Regions from separate parts of the Homo sapiens genome. Here regions 2, 3 and 4 are each linked to region 1. The links are contacts of gene promoters, found by promoter capture Hi-C in blood cells and fetal thymus (Javierre and others, 2016). All regions are on one chromosome and are shown on one strand. Each heading gives the region's core, a stretch centred on a gene start or on the middle of the fragment in contact. The rest is flanking DNA. Distances are from core to core; before and after follow the strand shown.

Region 1 (2,838 bases), core at 167-2,666:
GGCGGAAGTGTGGGGCGGGAGGAGCGTGGGGCGGGAGGAGTGTGGGGCGGGAGCGTGGGGCGGGAGTGTAGGGTCTGGCTTGGGTATCACTTTAGGTGTGAAGGACGGGGGTTGAGCGAGTCAGAGCCTAGAGTCTGGTTTGTGGTCTGAGTGTCTTGCCTGGTACGAAGAGTTTCTAACAGAGTCTGGGATCCCTCTGAGAACAAGGAATGTGAGGGGATAAGAGGGATGCTTGGTGCAGAGATGTGCTCTTTTGTACGGGATGAGAGCAGCACAGGAAGGGAATGCACCTGTGATGTGGGAGAGAAGTCTTGGAGTTGGGCTATGAAGAGTCTGGGCGGGTCCTGAAGTGCAGGTGGAGGAAGCCAGAGGTGCGTGTGGGAACTTGGGGTGTGAGGTGGTGTGTGGACTCCGGGGTCCCAGGTGTGGCAGGTGTGAGGGTAAGAGGGGCAGGCTGCACGGAATGAGAAGCCCAGGGTGTGCAGACTTCAGGATCAGGAGTGTATGGTGTGAGGACATGGAGATTAGGTTAAGGGGGTGAAGGACTGAGGTGAGGGATGTAAGGTGGGGAGAGTGGGGTATGGAGTGTGCAGTGAGGGGAGCGGGGGAGGGGTGAGGCGGGGTGAGGCGGGGTGAGGAGGGGTGAGGGGTGAGGCGGGGTGAGGGGTGAGGCGGGGTGAGGGGTGAGGCTGGGTGAGGAGGCGGGTGAACGGTGACGTGAGCGATGAGGGGTGAGGGGCGAGGCGGGTGAGGCGGGGTAAGGAGGGGTGAGGCGGGGTGAGGGGTGAAGGGTGAGGCGGGGTGAGGGGTGAAGGGTGAGGCGGGGTGAGGGGTGAGGGGTGAGGCGGGGTGAGGGGTGAAGGGTGAGGCGGGGTGAGGGGTGAAGGGTGAGGCGGGGTGAGGGGTGAGGCGGGGTGAGGGGTGAGGCGGGGTGAGGGGTGAGGGGTGAGGCGGGGTGAGGAGGGGTGAGGGGTGAGGGGCGAGGCGGGTGAGGCGGGGTGAGGAGGGGTGAGGGGTGAGGCGGGATGAGGGGTGAGGGGTGAGGCGGGATGAGGGGTGAGGGGTGAGGCGGGGTGAGGGGTGAGGCGGGGTGAGGGGTGAGGGGCGAGGCTGGGTGAGGAGGCGGGTGAGCGGTGACGTGAGCGATGAGGGGTGAAGGGTGAGGCGGGGTGAGGGGCGTCGGGGGAGGGGCATGGGGTGTGGAGTGAGTGGAGTCGGGTGAGTGGAGTTGGGTCGAAGTCAAGGGTCTGGCTTGAGGTTGGTGCCACCGCGAACGCTAGGACAGGGTCAGGCGGAGCCCAGCCGTCAGGGCGCGTTGGGAGGGCCGGGGCCCAGGGGGGCGCGGCCTCGCTCACCTCCAGCTTGGCCCGCGCTCCGGTCCTGCTCTGGCGCCCCCAGCGGCCGCTTGAGGAACAAGGCCGCTCCTCGAGAGGGATGCCCCGCCCTTTCCGTTAGCGAACCCTCCCCGGAAGTGACCTCTCGCCCTCATTGGGTGTCCTCGGGAAAAGGGGCGGGGCATTCCGCGCTGCTCCCACAGGTCTGCGGCGTCCGAGTCTGGGACTGGCAGGTGCGGTGCTGGGGACGTCCTGAGGTTGAGGGAGAATCCTGCGGAGATGAAGAGCTTCCCGGCCTGACAGTTTTGCCCCCACCTCCTTCTTGAGCTTAAGGATTTATACGCAGGGCCCCGTTTGCCTGCTGTGTCCCCAGTGTCCAGGACAGCGCCCGGTACCAAAGGTGCTGGTAAACATTTGTCGAATGAGTCGCTGAACGCCCAGCTATTTCCACTGTCACAGCGATCATGTGTGGCGGACATTATGTGGCATGTATCTTACAGAGGAGGCAGCCCGGGCTCAGGGAGACGAGGCAGAGGTGCACGCAGGTCTATGTGGGCTGGAAAGTGCTGGGGCCTCCCGGGCGCTCCTGGTCTCCAGGCAAGAACTGGAAGCAGAGCCACTCAACACCTAGAAGGGCAGTGACAGAAAGCTCTGGCTGGGAGGAGGCTGACCAGAGGCCAGTCTGAGCTCAGCCTTTTTTTTCAGAGGGACGTGGGCACCCTAGAAGGGTGGTAAGTAGGCGAGTGGCAGAGTTAAAAGGTCTCTGGCTGCCGAGGCGGGTGGCGACGGGGCCGGCCGTTGCTGTTGTTTGGCTGAGTGGTGGACAGGGTCAAAGCCATTCCAAGGTCGACTTGACAGGGCTTGGTAATGTGGGAGGGAGGGAGAAAGAAGCAAGGGGCTAATGGCCGGGGTGATACCACTGGCAGAGATGTGGAAGAGTGGGAGAAGCTAGCTTGGAAGGTTAACTTTGATTTTGAACACCTTGTGTTTGAGAATCCTGACAAACCTTAGACCCCCTGAATTTTCTCTCAGGGATTCTGATTCTTAGCAGCCTGATTGCAGAGGAGGAAAAATGGCTGGGGTTGAGCCAGACAGTTCTGGGCAAGGAGTGAGCATTCGCTTGTTTATTGAGGAGGCTGCTGCCTGGGCCACACTCCCTCCGCCAGCTGCCAGGTTCCTGCCCCGGTTGAACCCGGTTTTCTGGCCATCCCTTTCCACCTGTGAGCTGCTCTTCATACTTCCATTTGCTTATACAGCCCAGAGCCGATTTCTGTTACAGCAGCCCAGAGAAACATGAATAGGGAATAATTCTTTTTTTTTTTTTTTGAGACGGAGTCTTGCTCTGTTGCCCAGGCTGGAGTGCAGTGGCACGATCTCGGCTCACTGCAACCTCCGCCTCCCAGGTTCAAGTGATTCTCCTGCCTCAGCCTCCCTAGTAGCTGGGATTACAAGCACATGCCACAACGCCCAGCTAGTTTTTGTATTTTTAGTAGAGACCGGGTTT
Region 2 (3,145 bases), core at 118-2,617, 150 kb after region 1:
GAGTCAGTGTACAGGGTGGGTCTGGTCTGGGTTGGGTACAGGACAGTCTTGGGGAGTTCCTTCCTTCCAGCAATGCTAAGCTTGGGGAGTTCCTTCCTTCCTTCCAGCAATGCTAAGCAGATTGCAGAGGTAGAATCAGCAGGTGCTGTGAACAGCTGCAGATTGGAGTTGGAAGGAGTAGGAGGTGTCCAGTCTGACCGTTGAAATTCTCCAACAAGGGGCCAAGACAAGAGTGAAAGGTGCCAAGACAAGTGTGGCCAGACAGTGGTCCCTCTAGGGTTGGCATAGCCCCAAAGAGTGGAGAAGGGCTTGGGGTTGGGTGCAGCCTGAGTGATGGGTGGGGTGCAGTGGGGCTGCTGAATGAGAGGGCCGGTGCAGCAGCCAGGTGGACATGAGTGCTGCCCCAGCCCTTGCTGCATGCTGCACGCACTGGTCCTCAGTGGACCCACAGGGGGCGAGAGCTGCTTATGTCCTGGGGGAGCCATCCAACCAGGGCTCTGATGGTCCTGAGATACACGTATTAGTTTAACAGTTTCCAAGTCACTTTGATCTTCTGTGGAAACCTGCTTGTACATCAGGGTCTGTCCTCGGGCTGTGACCCGCTGTGAACAGCTTCCCTTCCAGTGCGGTACAGATAGCCAAGAGTGGCCTGTATGTGCTGAGAACAGTGACAGGACGAAGGGAAATGGAGGGAAATCCAGGGAGACTGTGGTCTCTGAATCGTTTGTCTGTCCTGTGCCCTGGTCTTCTCCCTCATGGTCAGAGTGGCCTTTCCTTAAGTGAGGTCCACAGGGTCACCTGGAGTCTCCTTGAGGCTAGAGAGGCTGCCTGGGGTGGGGTCTGAGTTCTGGGGTGAGGGCCTTGTCTTGGGAGCCTGGGGTGGGAGCTCAAGGAGGGAGGGGAGCGGTGGCCTCTGTCAGCATCACGGGTGGCCGGGTTGGGGAGGACATGGCAGTGGGGCAGGAGGTGGCCCAGGCAGCTGAGATGGAGCCTCCTTGCTGTGCAGAGAAGCTGGACGAGATGCTGGCAGCCGCCGCAGAGCCAACGCTGCGGCCAGACATCGCAGACGCAGACTCCAGAGCCGCCACCGTCAAACAGAGGCCCACCAGTCGGAGGATCACACCCGCCGAGATTAGCGTAAGGGCCACGGGCGGCTGGGAGCGCTGGGTCGGGCAGGCATGGGGGTCAGACTGTCCTGGGCCCTCTTGACGGAGGTGAGAGCCTATCATGTGGACCCCTCTCCAGAGGGGTGTGTGCACCCCATGGCCTCTCTCAGAGACTCTTGGGGCTGTCTCTGCCCCCTAAATGGCCACAGCTCAGCACCTGCTGGGTTTGCTCTTGTAGCTTTTGGTGCCTCTGCCTTCAGGCAGTCCCTGTCTCACGCCTGAGACCACCAAGGTACCCCAGCTCCGCTGAGAACACGACAAAGCATGTCTCTGTTCCCTGCCCACTTGCCAACCCGGCGCCTTCTAGGCTCCTCCCCCACCCTCACCCAGGGTCGGCCAGGGTCTGCACCCACCCTGCCCAACACCGTCTACACTGTACCACCATCTGCACTGCCCACACAGCCCAGGCTCCAATGGGCTGCATCCTCTGCTCCCTGAGGGCAGAGTCCAGACGTGATTCCTGGGTCCAGGCACCCACAGGCACTAGTGCCATTGGAGTGAGAGCGTGGGGTGTCTCACCTCTGGCTTAGGAGGAGGACTGGGGGCCCCCAGTGCCCTGGAACCTCCATATTCCCCTCCCTGACCCCCACAGTCATTGTTTGAACGCCAGGGCCTCCCAGGCCCAGAGAAGCTGCCGGGCTCCTTGCGGAAGGGGATTCCACGGACCAAGTCTGTAGGTATGGCTGCGCTGTGGGGCTGCATGGGGTGGGGAGGAACGGGGCTGGGGCCGGCAGGGTGGACTTGGGTTTGAAGGACACTGCCTCTCTCTGCCCATAACTGGGGTTTCCAGTTTCCCTCTCAGTCCTGTCTCTTCCTGGCCCCAGCTAAAGGATCTCATACGTTGATGGACATGTGGGGATTAGGCCTTCCCCAACCCAGAGCTTTCCCCCGGCAGCCGACACTCCCTGTCCAGTGGGCACCGCCCCCCATCGCCTCATCCCTCCCATGGGCAGTCTCATCCCTGTCCCCAGCTGCCACTCCCTGTCCACTGGGCACCCCCACCTCCCCATCACCTCTCATCCCTCCCATGGGCAGCCTCATCCCTGTCCCCAGCTGCCACTCCCTGTCCACTGGGCACCCCCACCTCCCCATCACCTCTCATCCTTCCCATGGGCAGCCTCATCCCTGTCCCCAGCTCAGCTGCCTCCATCGCGGTTGCTCCCTTGCAGCCCAAGTGCATGTGAAGTTTCTGACCCTCAAACCCCCTGAACTTGCCTCTCCCCTACTTCTCCATGTATTGCTGTCTCCCCCCTTCACAGCCAGTTTTCCCCAAAAAGTCACCTCTACTGTCCATCTTGTCTCCCGTCCCCCACCGGCTCCTCAGCCTGCGGCAGACTTCCTCTCTCCATACCCAAATTGAAACTGCTCCCACCAGGGTCACCGGCGGCCTCCAGGGCCTTCCTCCCCATGGATGCATGGCCAGCACTCCTGCTGACCTCAGCTGGCATTTGGTTTCTTTGCTCCTTCTTCCGTGAAACGCTCCTCCCCAAAGCTTTAGGACAACACTTACTGGTTTTCCCCTCCTTTCTCAGATGGCACCTATTTCAACCCTGCCGCCCCAGCCTCCCAAATATGGGACCTTTTCAAGGCTGTGTCTTCAGCCTCCTTCCCCTCTGTGCCTCACCACTCCCCAGCCACCATCACACTCCACACTCACCGTCTCCTTTCCTGACCCAGATGGGGACATGTAACAAGCCCTGCCCACTGTGCATCCCTCCAGACATCCACTCTCCCGTCCCCTGCCCACCTGTGCATCTGTCCACCCACACACCTGCCCACTTGACCGTCCGTTGTCCATACAAACCCCAGCACACCTCCCATCTGTTACACATAGGAGTAAACCTCTCAGCACTTACTACGGGCTGGACACTGAGCATTTAATACTTAGAATAACCATATTGAGGTTGAGACCACTAGTACCTCCATTTTACAGATGAGAAAACTGAAGCAAGGAGGGTAAATGACCTGCCCAAGATCAC
Region 3 (3,216 bases), core at 281-2,780, 170 kb after region 1:
TATATTATTATTATTGATAATAATTATTATAATATTATTATGTAATAAATTTATAAGAAATGAAGCCATGGCTCAGTTGCCTGCTTGAGGGGATATTTGTGTCTGTCCCTCATACCGGCCACACAAACCTCCTCAGCCTGGACCACATGCACGGGTGACTCCTAGATCCCTATCTTTGACCTCCATGCCTAGGCACCTGGCATCTTCCAGCATCTTCTCCGAGTCTGCTGGAACTCAGCCCATGCCTTCTGCACCGAAAGCTTTTCTCTGTTCACCAACCCACTGAGTAGCACCTCCTAAGCTGGAGGCCACTTGTCCTCCATGACCCCTGCCAGGTTTTAAGCCTAGGGTTTAAGACTTGCTCCCGCCAGCGTCCGGTTGCTTTTAAATTCTGCTGCTCCTGTCTTGGAACCCGCTCGCATCTCTCGCAACTGTCCTACCCCACGGCTGCAGACCAGATTTAGCCCTCACTCCTTCCCTGCTGATTCACTGGTTTTCTGTTTCCATTTCTGCCCTCTGCTGACAAACACCAGCCTGTCTGTAAATGCAGCTGATGGATGGACCCCGTGAGCCAGTCCGGCCCAGCCAGTGCTGCCGTGGCCCTGCCAGCATCCCCTGCTCCCTCCCCATGCACACATGCTGCTCGCCAGTCTCCCCCCACCTCCTGCAATCCCTGAGCCGCTATGACGCTTCAGGGCTCTGTCTCACACATGCCCTCTTCCTTCTGCCTGGATCACCCATCGTTTGCCTGCATCAAGCATACATAGCTTGGAGGCTGATCTCCGGATCCTGTCTTCCAGGACGTTTTCTCTGACCCGCCCTCCCTGGAGTCCCAGTTAGATGTTAGGCTCTGCGTCTGCACGGCCCTGGTGCTATCTCAAATTAGAGCAAGTTGGTGCTTCTCACCTTGGGTTGTCTGCCCAGTTGGATGTGAGGTTTCCTTTTTGCTCCCACCCTGAGCACCAGAGACAAGACATTGTCCTTCAGGAGCGCACAGGCAGTCATGTGAGCAGCCGATAATGTGGCAAAAAAGACACGTCCTGGGTGGCACCTGGTGGGGGTGGCCAGCCAACAGGAGGGACAGAGACCCCTCGCTGAGTGGAAGGAGGTGGTGAGCTATGTCTTGAAGGGCAAACAGTAAGGCAAGTGGGCAAAGGCAATCAAGAGGGAGCCGTGAGAAAGTAGAGGGCACAGGACCCAGCACTGAGGCCAGGGGCTGCAGAGATGTGACGTCCCCGGTGGGGAGGGTTGCTTACAGGAGGGGCAGTGGTTTCAGAGCCTGGACACACTGGGTTGAGGAGGCGCGTGAATATGACAGAATGACAATCGCATACCTTGGCTCTGTGGTTAACCTTAGCCAGGGGTGGGGCCGGTGGCACCGTGGAGAAGTGCCACTAGCCCCAGACTCTGAGTCCCCATGGAGGCCTAGGGCTCCATGTGCAGCCCAGGGAGACCCACCCTCCCGATTCCACACACTCAGGCCCAGAGCGAGTCAGGGGCCCCCTGCTCCCACACTCAGACCCTTGCAGGGCCCCCCTCCTTGACTTCCCGTGCAGCCCTTTCCTTATGATGGCCTCAGTTTCTAATCTGAAAATAAGATGAGGATTAGGAAATGTTGAAAATTTGAAATTGTGTGGCCTCTGCTCTTCCTGTGGGCTGGCACCCCCCAGCCACTCCCAAGACCTGTGGACAACTTTGGGGCAGGGCCAGGACATGGAGGCTGCTTTTGTTTTGTTTTGAGACAAGGTCTCACCCTGTCACCCAGGCTGGAGTGCAGGGGCATGATCGTGGCTCACTGTAGCCTCAACCTCCTGGAATTGAGCGATCCTCCTGCCTCAGCCTCCCAAGTAGCTGGGACTGCAAGCGTGGGCCATCACACCTGACTAATTTTTTTTTTATTTTTTATGAGATGGGGGCCTCATTTTGCTGCCCAGGCTGGTCTAGAACTCCACCCTCCTTAGCCTTTCAAAGTGCTTCGATGACAGGTGTGGGCCACCTTGCCCAGCCTGAGGCTGGTTTTCAAGCTGTCATCAACCATAGCCTCAAAGGGCCTTCGTCCTTCTCCATGGCGCCACCCAGACCCTCACCTGCTTGCTTAAACCACCCCCGAGGCACCTGCTTCCCCTGGGTGAAGACCTGAAACCTACCCCTTTTCGGCCCTCAAGGTTTCACTGCGTCAACCATTCTTACTCCCTCTGGGATCTTCTTGCCTTCCTGGCTGGCTGGACATTGAGGATGGTTGGATAAGGTTTCTGCTCCTCACGGAGGGTGGTGGGGACAGGAATGGAAAAGTAGGGGATTGGGGGCTGGAAGGGATTGGAGATCAGGGTGAGAAAAACTGGGGTGGGAGTTGGATTGCCCAGGTAAATAAGGCATGGGGACAGAAGTGGGCACGGCTGGCGAAGGCAGCGGGTGGTTGGGGTGAGCAGGAGCAGCGAGAATGGCTGGGATGAGCTGGAGGGGTGCCTGGGGGTCAGGGTGGAAGCAGAGAGCAGGGAGGAGTTTGAGGGGAGATGGGGAGCCCCCATCCTGCCCCCTGTGCTGAGCACTCTGCCTCAGCCTGAGCCATGCCCTCGGATGGGACCCCACCCTCTGGCCCCAGACCTGTCACCCATTTCTCCTTCGCTCTTAGAACAGCATGAAGAAGGTCAGACAAAGTCACTCTGAGTTGAGATGTTTGTTGCTTCCATTAGTTTAATGACAAAATTAAATGGGCCGGGCCAGGTACTTTTCCCGCAACCATCACTATAGCCACGGGCAGGCACGATGACTGGCAGCCCCTTCTAGAATCAGAAGTGGGTAAGCTTTGCGGAGTCAAACTGTAATGGTCTTCTAGAATCCAGACACTGACATTGGGTCTTCAGACTTTTTTATTGATACCTCCTAAATATTTGTAAAGAAATAGGTGCTATCCATTAAAAACACCCGAATAATATTTTCTTTAACAGTCAAAACTTTAATCTTCTTCTTTTTTTTTTTTGAGACAGGGTTTCACTCCCATTGCCCAAGCTTGAGTGCAATGGTGCGATCTCGGCTCACTGCAACTTCTGCCTTCTGGGTTCAAATGATTCTCCTGCCTCAGCTTTCTGAGTAGCTGGGATGCAGGTGCCACTGCACCTGGCTAATTTTTGTATTTTTTGTACAGACGGGGTTTTGCCGTGTTGCCCAGGCTGGTCTGGGGCTCCTGAGCTCAAGTGATCTGCCTGCCTCACCCTC
Region 4 (3,092 bases), core at 1-2,500, 210 kb before region 1:
GCAATGGCGCAATCTTGGCTCACCGCAACCTAAGCCTCCCAGGTTCAAGTGATTCTCCTGCCTCAGCCTCCCTAGTGGCTGGGATTACAGGCATGTGCCATTGCGCCCAGCTAATTTTGTATTTTTAGTAGAGATGGTGTTTCACCATGTTGGCCAGGCTGGTCTCAAACTCCTGACCTCAAGTGATCCGCCCGCCTTGGCCTCCCAAAGTGCTGGGATTACAGGAGTGAGCCACCGCGCTCGGCCTGATTTAGCATAATTCTTAAGGGTCCTAGGATTTTCAGAATGATAAATGAGCATTCAATTTAAAAGTCACCAGCTGCATTAGCGAGTCAGCCTGTGCACTCAAGCTTTGAAGCCAGGCGTTGACTTACCCTGTCTAGCTATGAAAATCCTAGATGGCACCTTCTTCCAATAGAAGACTGTTTCATCTGTATTGAAAAATCTGTTGTTTGCCATAGCCTCCTTCATCAATTGTCCTAGCTGGATCTTCCAGATCTAGCGACAACTTCTATATCAGCATTTGCTGTTTTGTTTTTGTTTTTTGTTTTTTGTTTTGAAATGGAGTCTCCCTCTGTCACCCAGGCTGGAGTGCAGTGGTGCCATCTCAGCTCACCGCAACCTCTGGTTCCCGTGTTCAAGTGATTCTCCTGCCTCAGCCTCTTGAGTAGCTGGGATTACAGGTAGCCGCCGCCATACCCAGCTAATTTTTTTTTTTGAAACGGAGTCTTGCTCTGTCACCCAGTCTGGAGTGCAGTGGCGCGATCTCGGCTCACTGCAAGCTCTGCCTCCCAGGTTCATGCCATTCTCCTGCCTCAGCCTCCCCAGCAGCTGGGACTACAGGTGCACACCACCATGCCCAGCTAATTTTTTTGTATTTTTTAGTAGAGACGGGGTTTCATCGTGTTAGCCAGGATGGTCTCCATCTCCTGACCTCATGATCCGCCTGCCTCGGCCTCCCAAAGTGCTGGGATTACAGGCGTGAGCCACCGCACCCGGCCACACCCAGCTAATTTTTGTATTTTTTAGTAGAGACGGGGTTTCACCATGTTGGCCAGGCTGGTCTTGAACTCCTGACCTCAAGTGATCCTTCCGCCTCGGCCTCCCAAAGTGCTGGGATTACAGGCAAGAGCCATCGCGCCCGGCCGGCATTTGCTGTTTCACCTTGCACTTTAGTATGTTATGGAGGTGGCTTCTTAAACCTCATGAAACAACCTCCGCTAGCTTCCAGTTTTTCTTCTGCAGCTTCGTCATCTCTGTCATCCTTTGTAGAACTGAAAAGAGTGAGGGCCTTACTGTAGACTATTTAAGTCTGGTTTCGTCTTCTCTCCAAACCATTAAAACTTTCTGCAGGCATTGGGTGCGGTGTCTGACCCCTGTAATCCCAGCACTTTGTGAGGCTGAGGCAGGTGGATCACGAGGTCAGGAGGAGACCATCCTGGCCAACATGGTGAAACCCCATCTCTACTAAAAATACAAAAATTTGCTGGGTATGGTGGTGCGTGCCTGTAGTCCCAGCTACTCGGGAGGCTGAAGCACAAGAATTGCTTGAACCAAGGAGGTGGAAGTTGCAGTGAGCCAAGATCACGCCACTGCACTCCAGCCTGGTGACAGAGCGAGACTCTGTCTCAAAACAAAAACAAAAACAAAAAAAAAAAACACACAAAACAACAACAACGTAACTTTCTGCAGGCTAGGCACGGTTGCGCACACCTCTAATCCCAGCACTTTGGGAGGCTGAGTGGGGAGGATCGCTTGAGCTCGGGAGTTTGAGACCAACCTGAGTAATACAGTGAAACCTCATCGCTACAAAATAAAAGTTTAGCTGAATGTGGTGGTGCATGCCTATAGTCCCAGCTACTGGGGAGGCTGAGGTAGGAGGATGGCTTGAATCTGGGACGTCAGAGCTGCAGTGAGCTGTGATGGTGCCACTACATTCCAGCCTGGGCAACAGAGTAAGACCTGCCTCCAAACAGAAAGCAGCCTTCTCCGTGTCAGCAATAAAGCTGCTTTGCTTTATTATTATTTATGTCTTCACTGGAGTAGCAGTTTTAATTTCCCTCAAGAACCTTTCTTTGGCATTCACAACTTGGCAAACTGGTGCAGGAGGGCTAGCTTTTGGCCTGTCGGCTTTTGACATGCCTTCTTCACTAAGCTTAAGCATTTCTAGCTTTTGATCGAAATGAGAGACATGTGACTCTTCCTTTCCTACAGGATTAATTGACCTAACGTTATTACGTTATTACTGTTGTGTCTCAGGGAGTAGGGAGCCCTGAGGAGAGGGGGAGAGACTCAGGGAAATGGCCGGTCAGAACTTACGCAGCGTTTATTAAGTTTGCTATCCTATATGGGCACGGTTTGTAGTTTCCCAAAACAATTAAAATAGTAACATCAAACATCACCGATAACAGGTCACCATAACAGATAAAATAATAATGAAAGAGTTTGAAATATTGTGAGAATTACCAGAATGCAACACAGAGACACGAAGTAAGCACATGCTGTTGGAAAAATGGCACCCCTCGACGTGCTTGACGCAAGGTTGCTACCAGCCTTTAATTTGTAGAAAGCACATTACCTGCGAAGCACAATGAAGGGAAGCACGTTAGACAAAGTACGCCTGTGTTGTTTTCCATTTCACAGATGAGGAAATGGAAATAAACAGCAAGTAGATGATAGAGGCAAGATTTGTACCCCAGGTAGTGTGACTCAAAAGCCTCTCCCTTTTTTTTTTTTTTTGTTAAGGGAAAGGCTAACTTTTAAAAATATTTTTAAAAAATTTTAATAGATTCCCTAGAAGAATAGAGGAAGAACAAAGAAAATTAAAAGAATACATTTTGGAATTGTAACGATAACTGATTATGTATCAGGCATTTGTGTGTTCTTGTTTATGTTCCAATACAATTTTATTTAGAAAAGCTGACTGGGAGGCCGGGCGCGGTGGCTCATGCCTGTAATCTCAGCACTTTTGGAGGCCGAGGTGGGCGGATCACCTGGGGTCCGGAGTTTGAGACCACCGTGGCCAACATGGTGAAACCCTGTCTCTACTAAAAATACAAAAATTAGCCGGGCATGGTGGCACGTGGCTGTAA

The links. The method cuts DNA at HindIII sites, captures the fragments that hold promoters and counts their contacts. A CHiCAGO score of 5 or more calls a contact.
Region 2: a contact is called between a fragment that was not itself captured here and the fragment with the promoter of SYCE3 in region 1, in 1 of 17 cell types (endothelial precursors). The highest score is 5.5, in endothelial precursors.
Region 3: a contact is called between a fragment that was not itself captured here and the fragment with the promoter of SYCE3 in region 1, in 1 of 17 cell types (endothelial precursors). The highest score is 5.4, in endothelial precursors.
Region 4: a contact is called between a fragment that was not itself captured here and the fragment with the promoter of SYCE3 in region 1, in 1 of 17 cell types (naive B cells). The highest score is 5.1, in naive B cells.

What each region holds. Positions count from the first base shown.
Region 1 is chr22:50,561,503-50,564,340 of GRCh38, forward strand. SYCE3 (synaptonemal complex central element protein 3) reads right to left here and starts at 1,417. Exons shown (of 3, transcript NM_001123225.3): 1 at 1,356-1,417. LOC107985568 (a long non-coding RNA gene) reads left to right here and starts at 1,459. Exons shown (of 2, transcript XR_001755606.3): 1 at 1,459-2,065. RefSeq lists silencers at 1-38, 1,109-1,518. The HindIII fragment of the contact is 5,765 bases long and covers 1-2,838 here.
Region 2 is chr22:50,713,911-50,717,055 of GRCh38, forward strand. It overlaps SHANK3 (SH3 and multiple ankyrin repeat domains 3), which reads left to right. Exons shown (of 25, transcript NM_001372044.2): 22 at 1,007-1,137; 23 at 1,759-1,843. Among named protein-coding and RNA genes, the nearest start is that of ACR, 23 kb to the right of the region's middle. The HindIII fragment of the contact is 2,578 bases long and covers 79-2,656 here.
Region 3 is chr22:50,733,149-50,736,364 of GRCh38, forward strand. LOC105373100 (a long non-coding RNA gene) reads right to left here. Exons shown (of 2, transcript NR_134637.1): 2 at 2,681-3,216. SHANK3 (SH3 and multiple ankyrin repeat domains 3) reads left to right here. Exons shown (of 25, transcript NM_001372044.2): 25 at 1-64. Among named protein-coding and RNA genes, the nearest start is that of ACR, 3.4 kb to the right of the region's middle. The HindIII fragment of the contact is 2,544 bases long and covers 259-2,802 here.
Region 4 is chr22:50,351,094-50,354,185 of GRCh38, forward strand. All of the region lies in intron 1 of PPP6R2 (protein phosphatase 6 regulatory subunit 2), which reads left to right. Among named protein-coding and RNA genes, the nearest start is that of PPP6R2, 9.3 kb to the left of the region's middle. The HindIII fragment of the contact is 1,805 bases long and covers 349-2,153 here.